Regions from separate parts of the Homo sapiens genome. Here region 1 is linked to region 2. Evidence: promoter capture Hi-C in 16 types of primary human blood cells and fetal thymus (Javierre and others, 2016). All regions are on one chromosome and are shown on one strand. Each heading gives the region's core, a stretch centred on a gene start or on the middle of the fragment in contact. The rest is flanking DNA. Distances are from core to core; before and after follow the strand shown. Region 1 overlaps PARP15 (poly(ADP-ribose) polymerase family member 15). Region 2 holds the start of PARP14 (poly(ADP-ribose) polymerase family member 14).

The links. Contacts are between HindIII fragments. The CHiCAGO score rates a contact against its expected background, and 5 or more counts as called.
Region 1: a contact is called between a fragment that was not itself captured here and the fragment with the promoter of PARP14 in region 2, in 1 of 17 cell types (total B cells). The highest score is 5.2, in total B cells.

Annotation. Positions count from the first base shown.
Region 1 is chr3:122,587,085-122,592,893 of GRCh38, forward strand. The region is part of intron 1 of PARP15 (poly(ADP-ribose) polymerase family member 15); the gene reads left to right. Among named protein-coding and RNA genes, the nearest start is that of PARP15, 12 kb to the left of the region's middle. The HindIII fragment of the contact is 7,907 bases long and covers 138-5,809 here.
Region 2 is chr3:122,676,281-122,682,121 of GRCh38, forward strand. PARP14 (poly(ADP-ribose) polymerase family member 14) reads left to right here and starts at 4,559. Exons shown (of 17, transcript NM_017554.3): 1 at 4,559-4,790. The coding sequence starts at 4,604. RefSeq lists enhancers at 3,547-3,666, 4,070-4,842, 4,267-4,666, 5,208-5,297 and a silencer at 4,907-4,956. The HindIII fragment of the contact is 13,941 bases long and covers 1-5,841 here.

The DNA.
Region 1 (5,809 bases), core at 2,841-5,340, 90 kb before region 2:
TTAAGTTTCCTCTGTGTTTGTGTGTGTGTGTGTCTTGATAACTCATTTCTTTTTAGCACTAAATGATAGTCCCTTGTTTGAATGTACTGTAGATTATGTATCCATTCACCTACTGCAGGACATCTTGGTTGCTTCCAAGCTTTGGCAATTATGAATAAAGCTGCTATAAATATTTATGTGCAGATTTTTGCATGGGCAAAAGTTGTCAAGTCATTTGGGTAAATACCAATGAGCATGACTGCTGGATCATATGAGAGGAGTATGTTTAGATTTGTAAGAAACTGCAAGACTGTCTTCAAAGTAGCTGTACCATTTTGCATTCCCATCAACAACAAATGAGTGTTCCTGTTGCTCCACATCCTTGCCAGCATTTGGTGTTGCCAATGTTCTGGATTTTCACCATTCTAACAGGCGTATAGGGTAGCTCATTGTTGTTTTGTTTTTATTTTTATTTATTTATTTTTTGAGCTGGGGTCTCGCTCTGTCCCGCAGGCTGGAGTGCAGTGGCACAATCACTTACTGCAGCCGCAACCTCCTGGGATCAAGTGATCCTTCCACCTCAGCCTCCCTGGTAGCTGGGACTATAATCCACCACACCTGGCTTATTTTGTTTATTTTTTGTAGAGATGAGGTCTCACTATATTGTCCAGGTCTTGAAGTCCTGGGCTCAAGAAATCCTCCCTTCTCAGTCTCCTAAAGTACTAGGATTACAGGCTGGTGTGAGCCACTTCACCCTGCTTCATTGTTGTTTGAATTTGCAACTCACTAACATGACATTGTGCATCTTTTCATATGCTTATTTACTGTCTGTATATCCTCCTTGGTGAAGTGTCTGTTCACATCTTTTGCTCATTTTAAAATTTGGTGTTTTTTAAAAAAATTGTTGACTTTTAAGAGTTCTTTGTATGTTTTAGATAACACTTCTTTTTATCAGATATATCTTTTGCAAAAATTTTCTCCCAGTCTGTGGAAAGATGCATTTTAAAGTATAGCAAGCCAAGTTCCTAATCATTTCCTTTGGTATTATCTTTTTAAAAATATCTACATTTTGCTTTCATTTTACCAAATTTTATAGTTGATCATGTTAGTGTCTTGAGATTAAGTTTTATTTTATTATATCTATAATTACCTTGGAGACTATTATTATTTGTAATATATTTATGCAAGAGCAGAGGATATCTGTTGAGGCTTATTTTTGCCATTAAAATTAAGTTATTCTGTTACTATGAGCTAATGTATCATATCTATATATTTTCTAGGAATTGGTTTATTGATTTTTTTTTTTGGTTTATTGATTCTTGTTTTTTGGTACCAGCTTTATTAAGATATAATTTACATGCCATAAAATTCACTCTTTAAAAGTGTGCAATTCAGTGGTTGTTAGTATGTTTACTGAGTCCACTGCTATCTACTTTTAGAAATTTTCAGCAAGGTGTGGTGGCTCATACCTATAATCCCTGCTACTTCAGAAGCTGAGGTGGGAGGATCACTTGAGCCAGGGAGATTGAGGCTGCAGTGAACCATGATTGCGCCACTGCACTCCAGCCTGGGTGACAGAGCAAGACTGTCTCTAAAAAATAAAAATAAATAAAACAAAGAAATTTTCATCACCGCAAGAGAAACTCCATATGCATTAGCAGTCACCCCTTATTTCCTCCTCCCCCAAACTCTGGTAACCACTACTATACTTTCTGTCTTCATGGATTTATATATTCTGGACATTTCACATAAATGGATTCATACAATATGTGGCCTTTTGTGACTGGCTTCTTTCACTTAGCATGTTTTTTCCAGGTATGTTGCAGAATGTATAAGAACTTCATTACTTTTTCTTCTTTTAACCAAATAATATTCCATTGTATGAATATATCACCTTTTATTTATCCATTCAGTTGGTGGACATTTGGGTTGTTTCTACTTTTTGATGATTGTGAATAATGCTGCCGTGAACATTTGTTGTCTCAGTCAGCTTGGGCTGCTGTATCAAATATCATAGACTGGATGACTTCAAAAATGAACTTTTTTTCTCATAGTCTGGAGGCTGGAGGTTTGCGATCAGGGTCCCAGCATGGTAGAGTTCTTAGTAAGGGCTCTCTCATCCTGGTTTGTCGATGGCCCCTACTTGCTGTTTCCTCACATGGGCTTGTCCCTTCATCTTCTTATATTAATCCCATCATGGGGTCCACCCTCATGACCTCATCTAAACGTAATTGTCTCCCGAGAGCCCCAACTCCAAATACAATCACATTGAGAATTAGGACTTCAACTTAAGAATTTAAAGAGGGACACAAACATTCAGTCCATAGTATTTTTGTAGAGGTTACTGTGTGGACGTATGTTTTCACGCCTCTTGGGTATATACCTTGAAGTGAAATTGCTGAGTCACATGGTAACTAACTTTTTAAGGAACTGATACATTATTTTCCTAAATCGTTGCCTTATTTTATATTTCCACCAGCAATGTGTCTTTTTCATTTTAGTCATTCTAGTGGGGTGAAGTGGCACCTCATTGTGGTTTTGATTTCCACTTTCTTAATGGCTAACGATGTTGTGCATCTTTTTAATGTCCTTATTGGCCATTTGTATATCTTCCTTTAAGAAATGTCTATTCAAATCCTTTGTTGGTTTTTAAATTGGATTTTTTAAAAATTGTTGACTTGTAAGGGATCTTTATATATTCTAGGTACAAGTCTTATTGGCTATATGATTTGAAAATATTTTCTTCCATTCTGTGAGTTGTCTTTTCACTTTCTCATTCATGTTATTTTTTATTTTCACAAAATGTATTATTTGTAAGGCATAACTTTTTTTTTTTTTTTTTTTTTGAGACAGAGTCTCGCTCTGTCCCTGGGGTGCAGTGGCACAATCTTGGCTCACTGCAAGCTCTGTGTCCTGGGTTCATGCCATTCTTCTGCCTCACCCTCTCAAGTAGCTGGGACTACAGGTGCCCTTCACCACGCCTGGCTAATTTTTTTGTATTTTTAGTAGAGACGGAGTTTCACCGTGTTAGCCAGGATGGTCTTGATTTCCTGACCTCATGATCCACCCGCCTCGGCCTCCCAAAGTGCTGGGATTACAGGCATGGGCCACCGCACCCGGCCTGTAAAGCATAACTTTTTATCATTTTCATTTCTATACTTACCCTCTTTTCTTTTCCTCACCTTATTTGGATGACCAAGAAGAGTTCCAAATAATATATATATTTTGAGATGGGGTCTCGCTCTGTTGCCCAGGCTGGAGTGCAGTGGCATGATCTCGGCTCACTGCAAGCTCCACCTCTGGGGTTCATGCCATTCTCCTGCCTCAGCCTCCCGAGTAGCTGGGACTACAGGCACCCAGCACCACGCCCAACTAATTTTTTTTGCATTTTTATTAGAGACGGGGTTTCGCCTTGTTAGCCAGGATGGTCTCGATCTCCTGACCTCGTGATCCACCTGCCTCGGCCTCCCAAAGTGCTGGGATTACAGGCGTGAGCCACCGTGCCCAGCCCCAAATAATATATTGAAGCAAAGTATACATATCAGTATACATATCTGATTTTTGTTTTATTTTGATTTTTACTACTTCTAAGGAGAGTGACTTCTTCTTCACTGTGAATACTGTTGACTTTGACTCTTTATTATGCTAAGGGAAAGTTCCTTTATTTCTCTTTCAAAGATAAAAAACAATGAAAAATGGAAGTCAGAGTCTCTATTGTCCCCTTCCTTTGTGATAAAAGTCTACTTAAACCCAGTCTTCTTTCTGAATATGCAACACTTTTGTGTCTTGGTTACATCTGCAGACTGCCCTTTTGTTATGCACTAACAGAAACTTTATTTGCGGTAAAATGTTGTAGCTCTATTAATTTAAATCAGTGGATGATCGCCATCATTTACTATCATGTTTGTTACTTTTTTCCCCATGATTTGGTGAGTAAATCTGACTTTACAAAATATAATGTTTAACTTTATGCAATATTTTAGCCAATGAGTTACCATTTTCCTTGTTATTAAAAGAATAAAGCAATGAGTCAAATCTATATTCTTCCAAAGTATTTAAAAATAGGAAGTAATATAAAGGCCAAATCCTTTCAAATCTCAAATCAGATATAAAAATATCCTGAGTGTTTCTGTCTCCTTAAAAATCAGTAAGTTGGAACATTCAGGCACAAAAGTAATACTTTCCAGAAGAGTGGATAAAATGGAAGAAGTGGAAATGGATGAAATAGATGAATTTGCAAAAGAGATCCTTTACAAGTCTCTCTTTTGGTTGCACTTCACAATATCCAAGACGTCATGACTGAGAACATGCTATCCTTGCTCATGGAGTCTGTTACTGGCCTGCCAGAAGCCAATTGTGACTTCAGGGTGGGAGTAACACACAACATTAAAGTCGTCACTTTTCTTAAAAATATTGGGGCCAGGCACAGTGGCTCACGCCTGTAATCCCAGCACTTTGGGAGGCCGAGGCGGGCAGATCACGAGGTGAGGAAATCAAGACCATCCTGGCAAACATGGTGAAACTGCATCTCTACTAAAAATACAAATATTAGCTGGGCATGGTGGCGCATGCCTGTAATCCCCACTACTCAGGAGGCTGAGGCAGGAGAATTGCTTGAACCAGGGAGGCGGTTATTGCAGTGAGCCGAGCCGAGATTGCTCCACTGCACTCCAGCCTGGTGACAGAGCGAGACTCTGTCTCAAAAAAAAAAAAAAAAAGGTATTGATAAGACAGACTATAGCTTTCACCTTTCATTTGCAAACTATGGTTGCATGCTACTTTGAGATTCCAGGCGTCCCACAATGGGTCTTCATTAAAAGAATGAGATACCATCTCACGCCAATCAGAATGGTGATTATTAAAAAGTCAAGAAACAATAGATGCTGGTGAGTTTGCAGAGAAATAAGAATGCTTTTACACTGTTGGTGGGAATGTAAATTAGTTCAACCATTGTGGAAGATGGTGTAGTGATTCCTCAAAGATCTAGAACCAGAAATACCATTTGACCTGGCAATCCCATTACTGGGTATGTATCCAAAGGAATATAAATCATTCTGTTACAAAGATACATGCATACATATGTTCATTACAGCACTTTTCACAATAGCAAAGACATGGAATCAACCCAGATGCCCAATGATGATAGACTGAATAAAGAAAATATGGTACATATATATCATGGAATACTATACTGCCATAAAAAGGATGAGATCATGTCCTTTGCAGGGACATGGATGGAGCTGGAAGCCATTATCCTCAGCAAACTAACACAGGAACAGAAAACCAAACACCACATGTTCTCACTTATAAGCTGGAGCTGAACAGTGAGAACACATGAATACAGGGAAGGGAACAGCACACACTGGGGCCTGTCTGGGAGTGAGGTGGGGGAAGGGAGAACATTAGGAAAAATAGCTAATGCACACTGGGCTTAATACTGAGGTGATGGGTATTTAGGTGCAGCAAACCACCACGGCAAACATTTACCTATGTAACAAACCTGCACATCCTGCACATGTACCACAGAACTTAAAATAAATATTAAAATTAAAATTAAAAAAAAAAAAAGAAAACCAGACAAGGCAAAGGAAGAGGGGAAAGTCAAGCATGCACATAGCACTGTTCTAACCATTAAACTAATGTTAACTCTTTTAATCTTCTTACAAGGCAAGTAGTATCATTATCCTCACTTTCTGGGTGAGGAAACTAAGGCATAGAGAAGTTAAATGACTTGCCCAAAGTCACACATTCAGTAATGGTGGAGCTGGGATTCAAATCCCAGGCAACCCTTGCTTTTAAGCCTTACACTAAATGGCCTTATTAATGCTAC
Region 2 (5,841 bases), core at 3,309-5,808:
CCCAAAGGCCTCAATTCCTAATGCCCATCACATTAGGAGTTAGGATTTAACATATGAATTTGGGGGGATACAAGCATTCAGCTTATAACAGAGTTCCAATTCCAAACTATGTTGTGTGTAATGAAGGATTGAGAAAATAAGTAAATATATTAATGTTCTTGGGAAACAAAGTTCATACTTTGAGATAAGGTTCATACAAGAGAATCATATGAGAAGAAGATCATAAGAATTATACAAATATGAAATAGTAGGAGAGAAAGAACCTGTGGTGACTGATTGAAATTAGAGCTATTTCCTAACTCTGTCCACAAGGCTGAATAGAAGAATTAGGCTTATACTATTTATTTCTCCACAGTCTTCATTATATATTTTTCCTTTGCTATATATTTTTTTAGGCTTCCCTTGCTATATATTTTTTTAGGCTTCAAAGGAAATACTTTTGTCTTCTAGTATAATAGTAACATAAACAAAGTATTCCTTGAGTTTCATGATCTGAGGTCAGTGTAGCAACCAAGAAGAAAGGTGAGATTAGATGTCTGAGTAAAACTTCTGGAAATATCTTTCTGTCTTTATTATTCAAGAATTTAATGGAGATGTGTGTGGGTGACACAGACAGTTCTGGAAGTGAGCCCAGAACTCAATGAGTTCTTTCAATTTTCAAGTTGGATTCTGACAGTTTTTGTTGTTTTTCTTTAAATTTGATTACCACATTGACTCTGTAGCTACATTTCCAGGCAGTCCATAATCCAATAAAAACGTCCTGCCTCAGGCTTTGATGGATCTAGGACTTGGAGCTTTTAGATAATAAATATCTGTGATATTTGTAATGGTGTGCCACTGTTCATCTCTTTCCAACTCGGCATTCACTGAAATCACACTGGGAACTTCATCAGCTGTTGTGAGAATATTTACATCATGGAATTGAAAAACACTACACATCAGGGCCTGAGTCGTTGCTTTGTTGGTTATCTTGACTTAAAGTGATGGAGAATTTGCTAACAGGGCAGATTATTTAAAAGTGGGTCACATCTATAGCCATTACATTGTAAAAAGCACAAAAAATTGAGGAAATATTCTTCCAGTATTTGAAAATTATTATCCAATTTAGTAAAGAAGGAATTATGTCATTGACAAATAAGGGTTCTGACATGTCTGCATTGCTTCACTTTCATTTTACTTGTTAATGTAAACAAAAGTGTCAACTTACATTTATGTCAAAACTACACTCATTCCTCAATGGCAACCATAGTTTGCCTATGGCTTTAAAAAAAAAAAAAAAAAAAAAATATATATATATATATATATATATCCAACACAAACTTTATTGTTAAATGAGTTATGTTTGTCTTGCACTAATAAACTTTTATTTCACCCAAATTAGAGCAATAATCTTCCATACTTAAGTATCTTCCCTGCCCAATAATTCAAAGAAACAAAATCCAGAATGATTAGTATAGATATAATTGTGGCAAAAATCTTTGAAACATTCTTTGAGAATCAATCAGCTATTTAGAAACTACAATAGAGTATTATATATTTTGTTATTATTTGTAAATTATGTGTTATCCAACCATTATATCAGTAAAATTTATAATAAACATAACACACATGGAAACTTTGTTTCAAAAATCTGGTTGCTCAATATTTAACAGCCATTACTGGTAGGTGTCATGCATGATATAGTGTGGTAGTAAAATATTGTGTGTTTCTATTTAAAAAAATATGATCTAGATTATACTGAAAATGAATGCTTGTCTTGAGACATACACATGTGTGTTCAATTCAATGGTTACCTAATTGCATGATGAGGAAAGGTCTTTACACAAACACGGAAAGATCAAGTCTACTCTGGACTCTTCTGGAGAAGCCACCTCCACCTCCCACTCAACCATAGTATTGGTGAAACGAAATTACTTCTATTTGGGAAAATGCATCAGTAGTAATTACTGTCCTGGCCAGTTGAGGGGTATGGAGACTGTCCCTATGGAGGTTTGAAGATAAAAGCTCTTGAAAGGTACCTGAGCATAGGGAGTAAGGCCAAAGACTGTGATGTGTCCATCAGGGGGCTCCCTCTGAGGGTAGAACTTCTTGGAGTACTTTTCCCTTGATGTATGGCCATGTCTTATTTTGGGGTGACTAGGTCAGGAGTTTCAGAAGCAAAATGAGGTGGAGTGGTGGGCATGAGGTACCTACAACTCACTGATTCAGGACAGAAGGGAAAGCAGCCCTTTCCCTCCTTTATACCTCAATGGTAGAAATGAGGAGGCTGATGCTAGTTGGTAGAGAAGTTCAAAAGAGCACGATGCTAGGCTACGGCAGTTTGTAGAGAAACCAAAAGGGGGAATTTAGATGAAGTAGGGAAAGGGAAGTTCAGCCCAAAAATGCAGACATGGGCTGTTACATTAAGATGAGCTGTAGCTGTGAAGTAGAAGGAGAATCAAGGAACACGGCCACTTCTACAGCAGGCCACCCCCACCCCAGGCCCTGAGAAGACACGTGCTTCCCAGGAAGAAAGGATCAGAAGGCAGATACCCACAGGAAACAGAGAATTGTGAGAGGATACGCATTCTTCAAGTGAACAAGGCAAAAATAACTTGCAGAAAACAAAGTACTGCAGGAGCTAATGCCGTTCAACAATTTGCCCCTTCTAGAACTTTCTTTCCTTGGCTTTCAAGACCTGCCATCCTGATCCTCTGATAGCTCCTTCCCAGTCCACCCAGGCATGATAAGCAGACCTCGGTGGTAAGACACATTGTCGATAATTAAATAAATCCTCGAAAGTAATCCAGAAATGCCTCTGACTTTATTTCTTATACAATAATTATGTGAGGAAAAAGGGAAACTTTTTGCTGAGTTCTGGAACCCCAAACTCAGGGGAGAGTGGGAGAGGAGGAGTGCTGATTTTAGTTGTGGTTTGGGATGAGATGTAAAGGCCCTGGGGAGAAACAGTCACCAAGTCTGGCTGAGGGCGCTTGTCCTCCCGTCTTCCGCATGCGGGGGTCCAGAGCAGTTTTGGATCAGATGATGAGCGCCATCTGCAGGTAGCAAGCTGGAGGCAGGAGAAAATATCTGTGTACTGTTTAGGATTATTACAGAGCCGAAATAAAAGCCAGGTAAACCATTTGGCCCATCTCTGGTTCTCTTCATTCTGAAATTCAGCCCGATCCTGTAACCCCACAACCTACTGCCTGGCTCCTTCTTCCCCTTCACGGTCACATTTCTGCAAAGAGCGTGTTACGCTCTCTGCTTCCACTTCCTTCCCTCCCTTTCAGTCTTCAGTAGCTGCCATCTCCCTCTCCTCCCTCCTCACCAGGAGACTATGCTTGCCGCTCCTCAGCAGTCCAGCAGACACTTCTCTGACCTGAGGTATCGGTAGCACTGGAATGATAATCCCCCCGCCCCCCTCGACTTGCAACACTGCTTTATTTGGGGTCAAGGAAACACACAGCCCCAGCTTCTCTCCCATCACTCGGCCTCCCCTCTTGCAGATGCCACTATTATCCAGCCACTTGCACGGGCCATCCATGGCTGACCATGGAGTCATCCTTGAGCTTCTCCTTCTCTCAAGGCTCACATTCTTCAGCAAGTCCTGCTTTCACTATTAATTGAGAATCCTCGTTTTCTCAGTTCTTCTCTGCCAGCACCCCAGTCTCAGCCACCCTTGTCTCTCACTTAGGACACTATGGTAGCCACTTGGCTGATCTCTCTGCCTCCACTCTAGCCACCACGCAGCAGCCGGAGTGATCCTGTACATGTGAATCACACCGTGGAACCCCACTTCCTAACCCTCCAAGGCTATCCCCTGATATCCTGGGGTTATCAGGTTACATGTCACCGCCCTATAAACCCTCCCTGAGCCGCCACAGCTGGACTAGGAGCCACTCCTCATCTGTTCCAGGAACACAAGTATATTCTTTCCCAGAGCACCTATTGCCCACTGTGTTCACCATAGCTCCGTGAGCTCAGCGAGGGTTCAGTGAGTGAGTGCATGGCGCCTAGTAAATATTCCACAAAAAAAACTGTGAGTGTAATTGTTTCCCCCACATTTCTAGACATGTAGTATTAACAGATCAAGGAACAGAAAGCAAAACAGGGAAAGCAACGTAAAATTCTGATAATCACAATGATTGCTGAAAAAGTCCCCAAATAGGCAGCAAACATTCTAAAGGGGCCACAGTTTGTGAGTCATTTTATTCTTTTGTAAAGGGTCGGCTTGCGGCAAAAATTAAATGATCTTTGCGTTTGGGCAAGGTCTGGTGCCCCAAAGCTGCCGACTTGATCTGCGGTTGGGGCGAGCGGCAGGTAGGGGGCCCGGAGTTAGGAGGGGGTGTGGGAGCCCGTGGAGCACAGGTGAACTGAGGCCGCCTTCCCGGGGCGCCGCTGGCCAGCCCCAAAGGGTTACTTTGGCCTTGGCTGTGGGCCGAATGCGAAGGTGGGGAGGTGGGCGGGGGATGACTCTGCCATTCCTGGGTCCGCTGTGTTAGGCTGAAGGCAAAAGGAAACCAAGGCCTGGGAGTTTTCCAGGAAACGAAAGCGAAAGAGTCAAAGTTAGCGGCCCGGAGTTGGCGCGGCCCCTGCAGTCCGGCGGAGAGCGGAGCTGAGGATGGCTGTGCCCGGCTCCTTCCCGCTGCTGGTCGAGGGCTCCTGGGGCCCCGACCCCCCGAAGAACTTGAACACCAAGTTGCAGATGTACTTCCAGAGCCCGAAGAGGTCGGGAGGCGGCGAGTGTGAGGTCCGCCAGGATCCCAGGAGCCCATCCCGCTTCCTGGTGTTCTTCTACCCGGAGGACGGTGAGGGGCGCGAGGGGTGGGGTGAGGAGGGGGCACCTCTGCCCTCCCTCCAGGGAAATGGCGGCAGGGCACGCACGGGAGGGTGACCCGCCCGACTTCGGCGGCTGCTGTAGCGGAGGTGGCCGGGGCGGGGGCGGGGGCGGGGGCGGCAGAATGGATTCCGAGCGCACCCGGGGCGCTGCGGTTCCCCGGCGCCCTGCGCTTCCAGGCGCTTAATGGCGCGGCCCGGAGGTGGCGGCGGAACCGCGCAAGTAACTCTTTATCCCTCGATCGTTTTCTGTCTTTCCCTGTTGTGGTGGTGTTATTGTTTGTTGTTGTTGTTGTGGAAGTGAGTCTATCCTCTTATCATCCTTTTCTGTCTTTTCCTGTTGTTATTATTCTTGTGTGGGGAAGGAAACTGATTAAGAAACGTGGCAAGTCACAGAGATTCCTTGTGGTTCTTGGAGATTCCCAGGGGTCCCGGGGTCACTTGGGAGAGGGGCAGAGGCGCTACCTAAAATCACACTGCCTGAATGTCAACGTAGAGCCGTCACAGCGGCCACATTGGAGGGGCTGTCGATCGACCACAGGTGCCCATTGTCGAGGGCCTGCCGGGGCCTCTTCTCCGAGTCTCTAGTGGCCCTCAGATTGGGAGCAAGGATGATATTCTGAAGTGATTGTGGGTTGGGAGATTTGAGCTTTGGAGGGAAAGTCGGCAAAGTTCCCTCCTTACAGACCCACCACTACTTGGTGGGCCAAGAGCCCAGAGGTGATCTGCTGGCTCAAGGGCCTCCCTGGTCTGCAATGGGAAGCCAGTGACCTGCAGCTCCCAGAATGGGCACCTTTTCCACTGGCATCTTATGGATGATGACCTATCGGGATCTAGTCAACCCCTAATTCCGCTTTCATGTCGCTAGATTTGGAGAAGCATTCGGGCCAGAGGAGAGGCAAGGAGGCTGAGGCTGAGGCCATGCAATTAGAGTGCCCAAGCAGGGATCCAAAAAGGAAAAATGAAACAGAAAAAGAATGGCGCACAGAAGGAAGGAAGGAGGGGGACAGGAGATATGCTTGG